3 separate regions of the Homo sapiens genome follow, and regions 1 and 3 are each linked to region 2. Evidence: promoter capture Hi-C in 16 types of primary human blood cells and fetal thymus (Javierre and others, 2016). All regions are on one chromosome and are shown on one strand. The core of a region is centred on a gene start or on the middle of the fragment in contact, and the rest is flanking DNA. Distances in the headings are between cores, read along the strand shown. Region 1 overlaps SF3B3 (splicing factor 3b subunit 3). Region 2 holds the start of EXOSC6 (exosome component 6). Region 3 overlaps SF3B3 (splicing factor 3b subunit 3).

Region 1 (4,544 bases), core at 979-3,478, 300 kb after region 2:
ATATATTTTTGTATCTTATTAAATTTATTCCTTATTACTATATACTCCTAAATAGCATACTTTTTATTTATTTATTCATTTATTTTTGAGATGGGGTCCCACTCTGTCTCCCATGCTGGAGTGCAGTGGCTCCATCATGGCTCACTGCAGCCTTGACCTTCCTGGGATCAGGTGATCCTCCCACCTCAGCCTCCTGAATAACTGGGGACTGCAGGCACGTGCCACAACACCCAGCTAATTTTTGTACTTTTTGTAGAGACAGAGTCTTATCATGTTTCCCTGGCTGGTCTTGACCTCCTGGGGTCAAGCAATCTGCCTGCCTTGGCTTCCCAAAGTGCTGGGATCACAGCCGTGAGCCACCGCACCTGGCCAAGTAGCATAATTTTTAGTGTTTCTGCAATGTTTCACCAAAGTGGGTAGATCATAATTTATTTAGTGAATCTTTTATTGCTGGACTTTTTAGGTAATGTGGACACTAAAAGTTATCTTCTTGAATCCCATATTCTCTGTGTATCGTAGTCCTAATGTTAATGCTTTCTAGTGAGGGCCCTGAACTTGAACTTGTTAGGAATAAAATAAAAAGCTTCCTATAACAGTTTGTTTTGAGCGCTTGGGAATGGCAATCTGAGCTCTCAAGAGGCCTGCTACCTGTTTCTGTAAATTTTTATTGGAACACGCCCAAGATAATCTGGGTTTTGAATTCTGGCTCTACCACTTAATAGCTATTACTAAGTTTTTGTTTCTTCTGTTAAATGGACTTAATAATGGTACCTGCCATAAAGAATTATGTGAATTAAATGAGTTGATAACAAACAAAGCACTTAGCTTAAGGTATGGCATGAAGTGTTCGATAAATGTTAGCTGTTAACATTGGTGTTTCAGGGAATTTGAAAATGTTTTGTCTCTGCCAAAATATATTCATCAGTTCACCAAAATTTCAATGACTCAGACCCAATTTAGAGCCATAGGTCTGGTTTTTGGTTTTTTGTTGTTGTTGTTTTTGTTTTTGTTTTTTTGAGTGCAGTGGTGAGACTTTGCTTCACTGTAGCCTCCAACGCCCAGTCTCAAGCAAGCAATTCTCCCACCTTAGCTTCTGGAGTAGCTGGGACTACAGGTGTGCGCCATCACGCTTGGCTAATTTATTTATTTATTTTTGGTAGAGACAGGGTCTTGCTATTTTGCCAGGGCTGGTCTTGAACTCCTGGGCTCAAGTGAGCCTCCCACTTCACCCTCCCAAAGTGTTGTGATTACAAGCGTGAGCCACCGCGCCTGGCCAAGAGCCATTGCTCTTGATTCGTTAGTTACTTATTTCTCATTGGATCCTAGTGAGCATATGATGAAAGCTAGTGCTTTACACAAAAAATGCATATGTGCGGCTGGGCACGGTGGCGCACGCCTGTAATTCCAGCACTTTAGGAGGCTGAAGCAGCTGGATCACCCAAGGTCAGGAGTTCGAGACCAGCCTGGCCAACATGGTGAAACCCCTTCTCTACTAAAACTACAAAAATGAGCCGAGAGTGGTGGTGGGTGTCTGTAATCCCAGCTACTCAGGAGACTAAGGCAGGAGAATAGCTTGAACTGGGAGGTAGAGGTTGCAGTGAGCCGAGATCACGCCACTGTACTCCAGCTTGGGCAAAAGAGTGATACTGTCTCTAAAAAAATGCATATGTGCATTAACAGAAAATTTTTGTATAGTGTAAGAGATAAATGACTCAAGAATCATTTTTTAGTTTCCTGCTACTTCTCTCCCCACTTCAAATCTATAGACAAACCTTTGTTATATATAAAAATATTTTCTGAGGTGGGCAGATCACGAGGTCAGGAGATCGAGACCATCTTGGCTAACACGGTGAAACCCCGTCTCTACTAAAAATACAAAAAGATTAGCCAGGCGTGGTGGCGGGCGCCTGTAGTCCCAGCTACTCAGGAGGCTGAGGCAGGAGAATGGCGTGAACCCGGGAGGTGGAGCTTGCAGTGAGCCAAGATCGCGCCATTGCACTCGAGCCTGGGCGACAGAGCGAGACTCCGTCTCAAAAAAAAAAAATTTTTTTTTAAATTGTTGAACGTTGCTTTATTCCTTTATGTCTATTTGTTACACCTTGTTGTCTAACTAGATTGTGGTCTCAATTGAGCCAGGGTGACTGACAGTTTTACATTTGGTATAGACTATAGCATAGTTGACAGTTGAATTTTATTGATGATGAAGTTCTTAGGTCTTCCTTCTAATTATACCAGTAAACTAGGAAAAGGGCTAGTCTTTCTGTGAATATACATGAATTCTTCCTATAAGATGTGGGTTACACGTTATATATAAGTGGCTAGTTTATTGTCTCTAGATCATTTAAAAACATTCAATAATTTTAATTTTATAATGATTTTAAATTTATAAAAAAATTGCAAAGACAGTACAGAGAGTTCCTGTATAACCTACACCCAGTTTTCCCCTCTAGATCATTTTGAATTTGGCTTAGATGTTTTGTTTACTCTTATGTTTGAGAACCTATAGGACATGTAGAGAATCATTCACTCTTGACTTTAAGGAGCATAAAAATCTAATCAGAAAGACAAAACAGTTAGTACCCTAAGAGGTGGTGACTGATTTCTTTCTTTTTTTTGGAGACGGAGTCTCGCTCAGTCACCCAGGCTGGAGTGCAATGATGCAATCTCAGCTCACCGCAACCTCCGCCTCCCGGGTTCAAGCGATTCTCCCGCCTCAGCCTCCCGAGTAGCTGGGATTACGGCACCCGCCATCATGCCTGGCTAATTTTTATATTTTTGCAGAGACGGGTTTCACCGTGTTGGCCAGCTGGTCTTGAACTCCTGACCTAAGGCAATCCACCCGCCTCGGCATCCCAAAGTGCTGGGATTTCAGGTGTGAGCCACTGGGCCCAGCCGGTGGTGACTGATTTCTATGAGTGCTTATAGAAGGGAGAGGTGACTGCCAGCCAAGGGGATAAGGGAATAATTTTGTTAAAGGAGGTGGCATTTGAATTGGTCCACATGGGATTTGGCCTTATGGGAGCTGGGGAAAGAAAGGGGATGCTAATTTAGATGGCCTGATTGATTCCCAGTGGTTACTGCTGTTCTGAGGATGATCAAGGCATATTGTACTTGAAGGAAAGGGGTATGGTTTTGCCTGCAGCAACTGTACCCTCTCAGACATCCTGTAACTTTTGCTTAAGACTGTCATGGGGATTGCCACTAAGAACCAGCCTGTTTGGTTCTTAGATTCTTCTTTCACTAGGTGGTTTCATCCTTTAAATACAGCATACGTTGTGAACCCTGCCTTTGAGACCTTATTTTTTGATGTGATTGTAAGCAGGTAGCTGAGTTGCATGCTCACTGGATCTGTGGCTTCCCTCTTCTCCTGTCAGGTGTCAGAAATGGCTGTTTCTGAGCTACCTGGTAACCCCAACGCTGTCTGGACAGTGCGTCGACACATTGAAGGTAAGCAGCTTTTTCCCAATAGTCAAAATGAGGATCTAGGTGCCATTGACATAGAAGGCTTGAAAGGCTGCGTTCATAATACTTCTGTATCATTTCATTTAGCACCATATACCAGAAACTTTCTGGCCCAACACTGTTTTTGAGGCTCTTCCGTTCAGGATGCCTTCACCTACCATTTCTTTTTGTGCAGGTGGGAAAGGGGGAACATAGGTTGGCTGTTATATTTTAGTACATAAAGGTTTCAGAATCATAGAGCTGTCAAATGTGGTATTGACTTTATATTCATAAAGGTACTGGTTTCATCTGTAAGAGGTATGATATGAGGGAAAGTTGTGCTTTTTCATTCTTCTTCAACTATATTCTTTTAAATTGTTTTGAAACCACAGTGAAATTGAAGGTGGTGTTCTAGGAATTAAGAGATTTGGGAAAGCTTGTTAGTCAATCTTGCTAGTGCTTAAGGAAAGCAGAGTGGAATTGAGTGGAATTCGAATTTTAGTGTGAGTAGAAAAGCGGGGATGGGGAAGGAGAAGGGAGTTTGAGCTCCTGGATATAAATGGTCACCTGATCCTAAAACTTTGAAAGTAATAGGAGAATGCCTAGTAGTTACTGCAATAGCAGGAAAGTCTTGTGACAATTGAATTGCAGCCTCATAGAAAGAAAGCTCAGTCTCATTTTCCCTTGATTCACATTGGAGCTACGTTTTTCTCTTGTTCTCTCAGGAATGTGGGATGGGTGAGTAACATCATCCTTGCTAGCAGACAGGTTTTTCAAGAAAACAGCTGTAATTCTGCCTGATATTTAGATATTCTGCCTGTATGAAACAGATTGAAGGAGTTGGGAGACATGTAGGAGGAAAACAACTTACTATTAGTAGAATACTCATTTTTGTGGATTTAATTTTCATTGTAGGCATTTGAATCATATCCAAGTTGAGTAGAAAGGGAAAATTGTGAATAGGAAATGGGTAGGCTTATAAGCTGAAGAGATAATTATTAGGCACCTGGTTTTATGTGTAGTATCTACATAGAAGTTGGTCCGTGTTGGTGTTTTACTTTGGCTTGGTGGCTTGTTGATATTCATGGCCCTTGAAAGCATTG
Region 2 (4,382 bases), core at 258-2,757:
CCAAGGCGGGTGGATCACCTGAGGTCAGGCATTCGAGAACAGCCTGGCCCACATGGCGAAACCCCATCTCTACTAAAAATACAAAAATTAGCCCGGTATGGAGGCATGTGCCTGTAATCCCAGCTACTTGGGAGGCTGAGGCAGGAGAATGGATTGAACCCAGGAGGCAGAGGTTGCAGTGAGCCAAGATTGCACCATTGCACTCCAGCCTGGGCAACAGAACAAGACTCCATCAAAAAAAAAAAAAAAAAAAAAAGAAAGAAAGAAGAAAAGAAAATTAGCCAGGTGTGGTTGCATGCACCTGTAGTCCCAGCACTTTGGGAGGCCAAGGCAGGAGGATCAATCAAGGCTAGGAGTTTGAGACTGCAGAAAGAAACCCTGTCTCTAAAAAAAAGGTCCAGGTAATTTCAGGGTCCAGCTCCACCACAAGCGCAGCTCCAGGGGCTGTTGAGTTTTGCCTTTATCATTCCAAGTAGTCCCTGCTCCAGACCAAGTCCCACCATCTGGCAGTCAGGTCAGTCCAACCACAGTCATATCAGGGCCCTTCCAGGAATTCTCGACGCAAACTGGAGGCCGATGGCGCGGGTCTTTTCGTGGACGGCGGCAGCACGGTCCTCGGCTTGCGTCCGTAGTTGCTCAGGCTTCTGGTTCAGGGCTGGGCGGCGGCGCCCCTGCGGCGGGCGGCCCGCACCAGGCTCTGCTGCAGCACGGGGTAGAGGCGCTGGCAGCCCTCGAGGCCCAGGCGTACGGCCTCCGCCCAGCTCTCTGTCAGGCCGCCCTCGCCGCTGCCCAGCAGCCCGGCCACCTGATTCAGCACAGGCATGAGCGCCACGGTGAGGCCGGCGGCGGCGCGCTCTTCCTCGAGCCGCGTGGGGTCCAGGAGCCAGGTGGGCGCGGGCCCCGGCGCGAGGCTGAGGCCGCAGCCCACCACCAGGTCGTACATCTCCACGCCCGCGTCGGCCAGGGCGAGCGCGGCGGCGGTGAGCGCGGCGGCCAGGGCCGAGCCACCGTCCTCCAGCAGCAGCGCCGACACCTCGAGCTGCGCGCGCGGGTAGCGGCCCAGGCGCACAGCCGGCTCCAGCGCCTCCTGCAGCGCCAGCGCCAGCTCACGCTCCTCGCAGCCGCCCGGGGGAGCGCGGCGCCGGCGGCCCGCGAAGGGTGCGCGGCGGAAGTCGCAGAGCAGGCGACCGCGCAGCGCGGCCGGGGCCTCGCCGCCTGCTCCGGCCGGGCCGCCGCCGCGCTCGCCGCCCTCGGCCTGTCGCGGGCCCGACACGGCACACAGCACCTTGGTGCCTCCCGCCTCCAGGTAGGCCGAGCCCTTGGCCTGGCTCAGCAGCCCGGCGCGCGCGTACACGGGCCGTAGCCGCGTTGGGTCGCGGGTGCCGGGCGCCTCCTCCTCGTCGGCCGCGTACAGCTGCGGCGGCTGCGATTCTTCAGGGCCGCGGATGCGGCGGTGATCCCCAGGCATGGCGGTTCTTGGCGTGCGAACCCCTTCCGCCCAACGCCCTGCCGCATCCACTGGTTCTTCCGTTGTTTAAAGACGCGCGGCTGCGCATGGGCTGTCGAGAGAGCGGCGGGAGGCACTACAGCGCCCCTGGAGGCCCGGAGGGAGAACGGCCCGGTCCCAGTTGTGCAGGGTAGCCGGATCCATCCATCTTGCTGGAAGGGAGGGGGGAGAGCAGCTCCAAGAAAGGCTTCTCTGCTTCCAACTACCTCCACCCCTCATCTACTGAATTATGAACGCCTTGCTCCAAGTCACCCCACCTATTTGGCCTCCACCTCCACAGACGTTTGAGGCAGCCCTAGGGGCTGTTCCCAAAATTTTGGGTTCTGGGGCTGGACTAGGTGAACACCACAGCAGCCAGCAGGAGCCACAGCATTTATTCTACAGACGCCAAAGGCTGTCAAAAGAGCCAGCCCCTATTGGGAAGAGGGATAGAGATCATGCGGCATTAAGTATTGCACGTGGTCCTTTTATTCTCTGCAGCAAAAACGATTCCTACTTGCTGACGCGGAAAGCTCAGGTCTGGAGAGCCGTTATCTATAGATGCGAGCGTGACGATCAACAGCAATGCGGGGTTAGTGGTTCTAGACCGATGGCACTGACGTGGAGGGCTCAGGGCAGAAATTTAAGGGGCACTGAGACATAGGACTGCTCCCAAGTGTGTTCCAGTTACTGCTGGGTTAGGAGGGGCTCTTTAAAGGTCCCAAGATTCAAATGTTCTTGTAGCAGATGAAGAGCTCTTGGCTGGACGGATGGATCCAGTGGGAGCCTCCTCCTTCCCCACTCAGTTCTTTACATCCCCGAGGCGCAGCTGGGCGAAGGAAGTGGCCAGCTGCAGCGCCTCCTGCAGGCAGCCAACGTTCTTGCCTGTGGCCTGTGCAGACACATCCTTGCCACCACCTTTACCGTCCATCAAGCCTGACACCTGCTGCACCCACTCGCTGGCTTTTAAGCCCCGATTGGCTGCATTCTAGAAGACAGGAAGGGAAGGGGGAGTCAGCACAGAAGATGGGATTGAGGGAGGAATGCAGGGAAAGAAAGGATGGAGGAGCCATCACCCACTCCTTGCCCTGGGTGATACTGCTGGAGGCCGAGACAGACTTTACGGCTGGTACAGGGGGCGGCCATGGCCACTGCCAGGACAGGACAGAGTGGCAAAGCCAGGTATCAACCAGATGTCTTCACCAATAAGAAGGCCTGGGTAAGGGGTACTGGCAAAGGTAACCAACCGGTGGGCAGAAAGGCTGTTTCGAATGCAGGCTGTACACACACAGGCCTCAGCCAACAACCTTAAGACCTAACACTTCCCACTGGTGCGAGGTGGTGCTGACCTGGGGAACTTGACACAGGCACGTGATCTTGCCAGCCTCATTGTCCACCGTGAAGAGCATGGCAGAAGTCTGAGGGGAGTGCATCTTGAAGAGCTTCAAGGCTTCATTCAGGGCCTGTGGGGAGGACCTGGCTCAGGCCACGGTGCTGGAGCAGGGACCCTCACTAGTGTGAGCATTTGCAGCCCTCAGAAGGCCTGCCACCCACCCCTACCCCTTCCCAGAGCAGGGGCTGTGCCCAGGGCCTGTGGGGAGGACCCCAGCGCCGGGCCCTGCCCCTACCCTGGCCCAGGTATGCCTCCCACATGCAGGGAGCTGCTGCTCCTCCCAATCTCAATCCCAGACCGTGGGCCCTTAGGCAACCACTTCGCTCAGAGCCACAGAGGCCACATGTCAGCCACCAGAGAGCTGATGAGCCCTAGGGGAGGGGACCCTGGCCCCTGGGTTGCCTTGGCTGAGGCGCCGCTCTCCATCTCCAGGATGACAAGAGGCTGGTTGGGGTTGCTGTCGATGAACTGCTTCGTCTTCTCTAACACCTGCAAGAAAAAAGTCCAGAACAGCAGCTCAGACCAAAAGCCCAGGCCCCGAACCCCTGGCTGTTCTGCCAGCCTTTGCCTAGGAAACACTCTGGCCACTGGTGCTGCCAGGACTCACTCGTTTCTGGACATCGGCTTTGCTGGCTCGGTCCAAGTCATCCATGACCTTCTTTAGGGATTTGAGAGTCTCCCGCAATTCATCCTTCTGCCACTGGGGGATGACTGCAGTGGCCAGGGCCTGGAACCAATAGACGACCATCTCAATCTGGGCCACAACTTGCTGGGATGTCAGGGTCCAGCCCACCCCACCCGAACCCAAGTCCTCCCTGACTAGTGTCCTGGAAAGGAAAGCAAGGAAAGCTTTGAGACCAGTCCCTTTAGGAGCAGCTGTGGCAGGTGAAACAAGCAGGGCTAGAGAGAAAGGAGCAGCAGAAAGCTGGGCTCCCAAATCAGGCCCGGTCCTTACCAGGCTGGGAACAGCCTGTGATAAGCTTCCTGGCAGCTTGAAATGCAAATAAATACCAGGCAGGCTTGGAAGCAGGGGCCAGCCTTAGCCCATTCCCCAAATCCCTCCACCCCAGTGCCCATACATGCTTGGGAAGAGCTCTCCTGCTAGCAGCACTGGGAGCAGCAGGGAATGTCCAGGGTCCAAGGACAGGATCCATGGGGTCCCTGCTACAAGGCTACAGGACAACAGAAGTCAGCCCAAAGGCCCATTCCACCAAGAACCAGGGCCTGACTGACTACAGATGATTTCCTGAAGACGGGGCATGTTTCATGCACCAGGCCCTGAGGACGGAGGGAGGGAAGCCGCCCCTACCTCTCCAAGGTCAGCGATCTCCCTCTGCACATCCTTGTTTGGAGCAGTCTGAGCCTTCACTTTGGCTTCCATGACAGAGAGACATTTCTTCAAGCTCTCTGCTTTCCTGAGGGCCTGGGAGGGGACACCGGGTCAACCCCAAGCAGGAGGTCTGAGTCAGACTCACTATCCTGTGTCTGAGCAGCTGCGGAAGC
Region 3 (4,765 bases), core at 1,312-3,811, 310 kb after region 2:
AGCTAATTTTTGTATTTTTAGTAGAGATGAGGTTTCACTATGTTGGCCAGGTTGGCCTCGAACTCCTGACTTCAGGTGATCCGCCTGCCGTGGCCTCCCAAAGTGCTGGGATTACAGGCATGAGCCACCGCACCTGGCCTTCATTCCATTTAATTCTTGCAGCTGTCCAGCCTTGTGGTACTGTTTTCATTTTACACACGTGGAAGCAGGCTTAGAGAGATGAAATGGTGAGTCTAGATCATATGGCTCGTAGCCCATGCTTTTCACATATGCTAAGCCATAGTGCCTCTCTCTAGCCCTCTTTTTCTTAAGATAGCCTGTTATATTTCTAGAATATCTTAGGATACTCTGCAGACTGAAATTTGGGGATAGGGCTTTTGGTCAGCTTATACCATATTTGTATTTTTTCCCAAACCTTATTGGAGCTGGGTTTTTTTTTTCCCCTCAGGTATTGGCCATGTCAAGCCGCTCATGGTTGAGCTATTCTTACCAATCTCGCTTCCATCTCACCCCACTGTCTTACGAGACACTGGAATTTGCATCGGGTTTTGCCTCGGAACAGTGTCCCGAGGGCATTGTGGCCATCTCCACCAACACCCTACGGTGAGTGAGTCTCATGTTTGAAGCTCAGCAGGAAGCCTTTCTGCCAAGGGCTCAGACTGGTTCTGCCAGAGTGTTGGAGGAGGCTGTGAAGAGGTGGCAGAGAGCCGACTTCACCATGAAGCTTGTGTGTTGCAATTGAAACCTTCATTTGGCTCAGCATTTTAGTACCTGAGAGCCAAGTTTCGGTGTTTTAGCTTCTGTTAAGATTTTCAAGGCCAAGCTTTAATACAGTCCAATCTTCCTGAGATTTCAGATTTTTGTTTTCTAGCAAAAGGGTATTGCCATTGGATTAGTTTTAGAGCAAGTATTGGATCACTGCATTGATAACCTTTCTTACTCTGTCTTGTCATTTGCGGTATTAAATCTTAAATGTTAACCTATCTATAAGTTATTTAGACCTTTTTCAAGTTGACAAAACTGTTCTTCCTGGTAATATTGATGTGAAGTTTGAGCACTGTATGTAATATTCTTTGCAAGATGGAAAAGAACCTAAAATAATTCAGTCAGTTTGGCTTCCTCAGGTTTTGGGGGGCTTTTAAAATTAAGCCACCAAAGTTGTTCACATCCTGGTTATAACTATTGGCTGTTCATAATGAAACTATGGCCTCTTGATAGATTAATCACTATTGCTTATCAAATGAGCTCCCAAAATTTCTTTGCAACAACTTTCAGGGTCTTTTCATGGTCATTGTCCTTTTTCTTTCCGTCATCTTTGTATTTATCTTCTGCTCCAGCAGAATTGATCTCCCTGCACTGCTCTACATCACTTAATATTTTTTTAATCTCTACCTGTGCTAGAATGCTTCACCCACATACATACCTGCCTGTCAGTGTTCCCCTTGTCTTTTAAGCCAGCCTTGTTGTAGCCTCATCTGTGGCCCCTACCTCCTGAATTGCTATAGATTTAGACAATCGCTACAGATTTTTAGGCTTTCCTAGCAGCAGAACTTACTTCCCCCCAAAACTAAATCAGGGAAGGTGACTTATGAGACATAAAAGCAGAGTTCTTGGCAGGCAGTTTATTTTTTTATTTAATTATTTTTATTTTTAAGTTTTTTTTTTGAGACAAGGTCTTACTCTGTTGTACAGGTTGGAGTGCAGTGGTGTGATCATGGCTCACTGCAGCCCCAACTTCCTGGGCTCAAGCTATTTCTGCCTCAACCTCCCAAGTACCTGGTGGGACTGTAGGCGCATGCCATCATGCCTGGCTAATTTTTGTGTTCTATTTTATAGAGACAGGATTTCACCTTGGTGCCCAGGCTGGTCTTGAGCTCCTGGGCTCAAGAGATTCTCCCACCTCAGCCTCCCAAGTAGCTGGGACTACAGGCGTGCGCCACCATACATGGCTTTTTTTTTGGTATTTTCAACAGAGTTGGTGTTTCACCATGTTACCCAGGCTTGTCTTGAACTCCTAGCCTTAGGTGATCTGCCTGCTTTGGCCTCCCAAAGTGCTGAGATTACAGGCGTGAGCCACCACACGCAGCCCCTATCTTTTTTAATGTAGAGAATAAACTACAAATAAAACTCCATCATTAGAGATCGGGTAACTATACTTTTCAGAGTACCTGGGTTCTGCTCATTTTGCACATAGTTTGGCTTATGTGTACATCTCTGTCCCATTTGACAGAAATTTGTAGGTCCCTTATTTGCTGTCTCTTGCATTGTCATAGTTTTCCTGAACTGAGGTGATTTTTGTTCACAAAGGTATCCACTTTATTTTATGAAGCACAGTCACTACAAATACCATATATGTTTAGGTAATTGCAGTGTTTCACAACAAATTTGGGATTGGGCTCTTTATTATCATTGGAGTGATTAAAAAAAAACTTTTGACAATCGTTTGTGTTTCATTGGTAGGAACTAGAACTGCTGTGAATTGTGGTAGGGTGTTGCCAAATGGGAAGGCCCTTCCTGGATCTCTGTGTCTGCATCGCAGAGTTTTCTAGAGTAGGAGGCTGTTGTTTAATGTTGCCTAATGCCAACGTTAGAGCTCCAGGGATTGACGTGTTTGCTGACTGCTCAAAGTCTATTTCAACACCAGTTTCTGGGTCCGAGTGAGTATTAAATAACTGCCTTGCTTTTTTGTCATAGGATTTTGGCATTAGAGAAGCTCGGTGCTGTCTTCAATCAAGTAGCCTTCCCACTGCAGTACACACCCAGGAAATTTGTCATCCACCCTGAGAGTAACAACCTTATTATCATTGAAACGGACCACAATGCCTACACTGAGGCCACGAAAGCTCAGAGAAAGCAGCAGATGGCAGAGGTAATGAGACTAACGTTCAGGGGTTCTATTAAAAGATGTGTGAAATTATGTTGAAAAGTTTAAACTGCCCGGCACTTTGGGAGGCTGAGGTGGGAGGATTGCTTGAGGCCACTAGTTCGAGACCAGCCTGGGCAACATAGCAAAACTGCACCTCTATTAAAAATTTTAAAAGATAGCCTGGTGTGTTGGTGCACTCCTGTAGTCCCAGCTACTTGGGAGGCTGAGGCAGGAGGATCACTTGAGCCCAGGAGTTCAAGACTGCAGTGAGCCATGATCATGCCACTGCATACCAGTGGCACTCTGGACACGAGACTCTATCAAAAGTTTAAACTCCTGTAATTGTTAGTATATTCTTTGTTTTTAAAGATCTAGGCTTTTTTCAGCTTTTTTAAGCAGAGGCCTTTGCCCCAAAGTACTTCATTTTAGAGCCTTTCTTGTAACCCAGGACTATACTCTGACCTCCATTTATTCACAATTAAGTTCCCTCTCTGAAACAGAATTCTCCCGTCCTTGAGCTTCCAAAATAGACTGTATTTCCTTTATTTGGGCCCAAAAGAGACAGCTTTCATGTTCTCCACAACACCAGCTCTTTCTAGAACTCATTGCCTAGCAGAAACCAAATAGCTACAACCACGTAGAACTGTATCCATCCTTAAAGAGTGGAGACAGAGTAGTTTTAGTAAGGGAAATCAGATGGGTTGGATAGAAAAGTGGAGTTTCCGTTGTCATTTTTCTCAAGCCACTAGTCCAATATTTGTCACAGCTATTGTTATTTTTGGTGTTTTCTACTAATATGTAACCAGCAATGTCTGGATTTCCCTTTCTGATCTTCTGTCTTCCCTAGTCTGTACACCTCTCCCTTTAATAGTCATGTCGGGAAATCCTGGCTGGGATGGCTGACTTTGCTGCTTTATGTATTGAGAACCCCCTGGAGTGTTCTTGCTACCTATCCTCTTCTCAGCCAGCCCCTACCTCTGAGCACGCCAACTCAGTTACTCGTTTTTTTGGGTTTAGGAAATGGTGGAAGCAGCAGGGGAGGATGAGCGGGAGCTGGCCGCAGAGATGGCAGCAGCATTCCTCAATGAAAACCTCCCTGAATCCATCTTTGGAGCTCCCAAGGCTGGCAATGGGCAGTGGGCCTCTGTGATCCGAGTGATGAATCCCATTCAAGGGAACACACTGGACCTTGTCCAGCTGGAACAGAATGAGGCAGCTTTTAGGTAAGCAGCCCAGGACAGTCCAGGGTTTGGCAGGCTGGAACAGGAGCTCTCTGAGTTTTGACTAAGGCCTTACTCTTGCTTCTTATTCTGTGTGTAGTGTGGCTGTGTGCAGGTTTTCCAACACTGGTGAAGACTGGTATGTGCTGGTGGGTGTGGCCAAGGACCTGATACTAAACCCCCGATCTGTGGCAGGGGGCTTCGTCTATACTTACAAGCTTGTGAACAATGGGGAAAAACTGGAGTTTTTGCACAAGGTAGGAATCTGCCAGTGGTTCTCCTAGATTTTAAGTCCCATTGAATTCTCTCACTTTTGCTTATGTTATGGATCAGGTCTTTTGGGGACCAGCTCCTTGATTCCAATCTCTCTCTTACCAGCACATGGAAAATGCTGGGGCCTTCTAGCTGCAGTGATGTTCTTGTGCCTGTGCATTCCACAGGAAGGCTTTGTGCTAACCATCCATAATGGGGAGATAGATGCACATTCAATTGGTCTCTTTCTTACTGTTTTAATAAGCAGGCAACAATTTGTGACCAAAATTCAGCAGTTTAAATAATTAATATTCTGGCTGGGCGCAGTGGCTCATGCCTGTAATCCCAGCACTTTGGGAGGCCGAGGCAGGCAGATCACCTGAGGTCAGGAGTTCGAGACCAGCCCGGCCAACATGGTGAAAGCCTG

Evidence for each region. The method cuts DNA at HindIII sites, captures the fragments that hold promoters and counts their contacts. A CHiCAGO score of 5 or more calls a contact.
Region 1: a fragment that was not itself captured here is called in contact with the fragment with the promoter of EXOSC6 in region 2 in 6 of 17 cell types (erythroblasts, megakaryocytes, total CD4 T cells and 3 more); the score reaches 16.7 in erythroblasts.
Region 3: a fragment that was not itself captured here is called in contact with the fragment with the promoter of EXOSC6 in region 2 in 3 of 17 cell types (erythroblasts, megakaryocytes and fetal thymus); the score reaches 20.4 in erythroblasts.

The regions. Positions count from the first base shown.
Region 1 is chr16:70,544,996-70,549,539 of GRCh38, forward strand. SF3B3 (splicing factor 3b subunit 3) reads left to right here. Exons shown (of 26, transcript NM_012426.5): 11 at 3,375-3,447. Among named protein-coding and RNA genes, the nearest start is that of SNORD111, 9.3 kb to the left of the region's middle. The HindIII fragment of the contact is 3,294 bases long and covers 582-3,875 here.
Region 2 is chr16:70,250,433-70,254,814 of GRCh38, forward strand. It overlaps EXOSC6 (exosome component 6), which reads right to left and starts at 1,508. Exons shown (of 1, transcript NM_058219.3): 1 at 1-1,508. The coding sequence starts at 1,468. The coding sequence ends at 650. It overlaps AARS1 (alanyl-tRNA synthetase 1), which reads right to left. Exons shown (of 21, transcript NM_001605.3): 17 at 4,189-4,302; 18 at 3,487-3,606; 19 at 3,282-3,368; 20 at 2,836-2,949; 21 at 1,866-2,474. The coding sequence ends at 2,289. RefSeq lists silencers at 715-1,034, 1,165-1,254 and enhancers at 1,635-1,684, 1,725-1,914, 2,549-3,049. The HindIII fragment of the contact is 9,148 bases long and covers 1-3,726 here.
Region 3 is chr16:70,561,182-70,565,946 of GRCh38, forward strand. It overlaps SF3B3 (splicing factor 3b subunit 3), which reads left to right. Exons shown (of 26, transcript NM_012426.5): 17 at 449-603; 18 at 2,695-2,869; 19 at 3,884-4,089; 20 at 4,187-4,343. Among named protein-coding and RNA genes, the nearest start is that of SNORD111, 26 kb to the left of the region's middle. The HindIII fragment of the contact is 3,481 bases long and covers 822-4,302 here.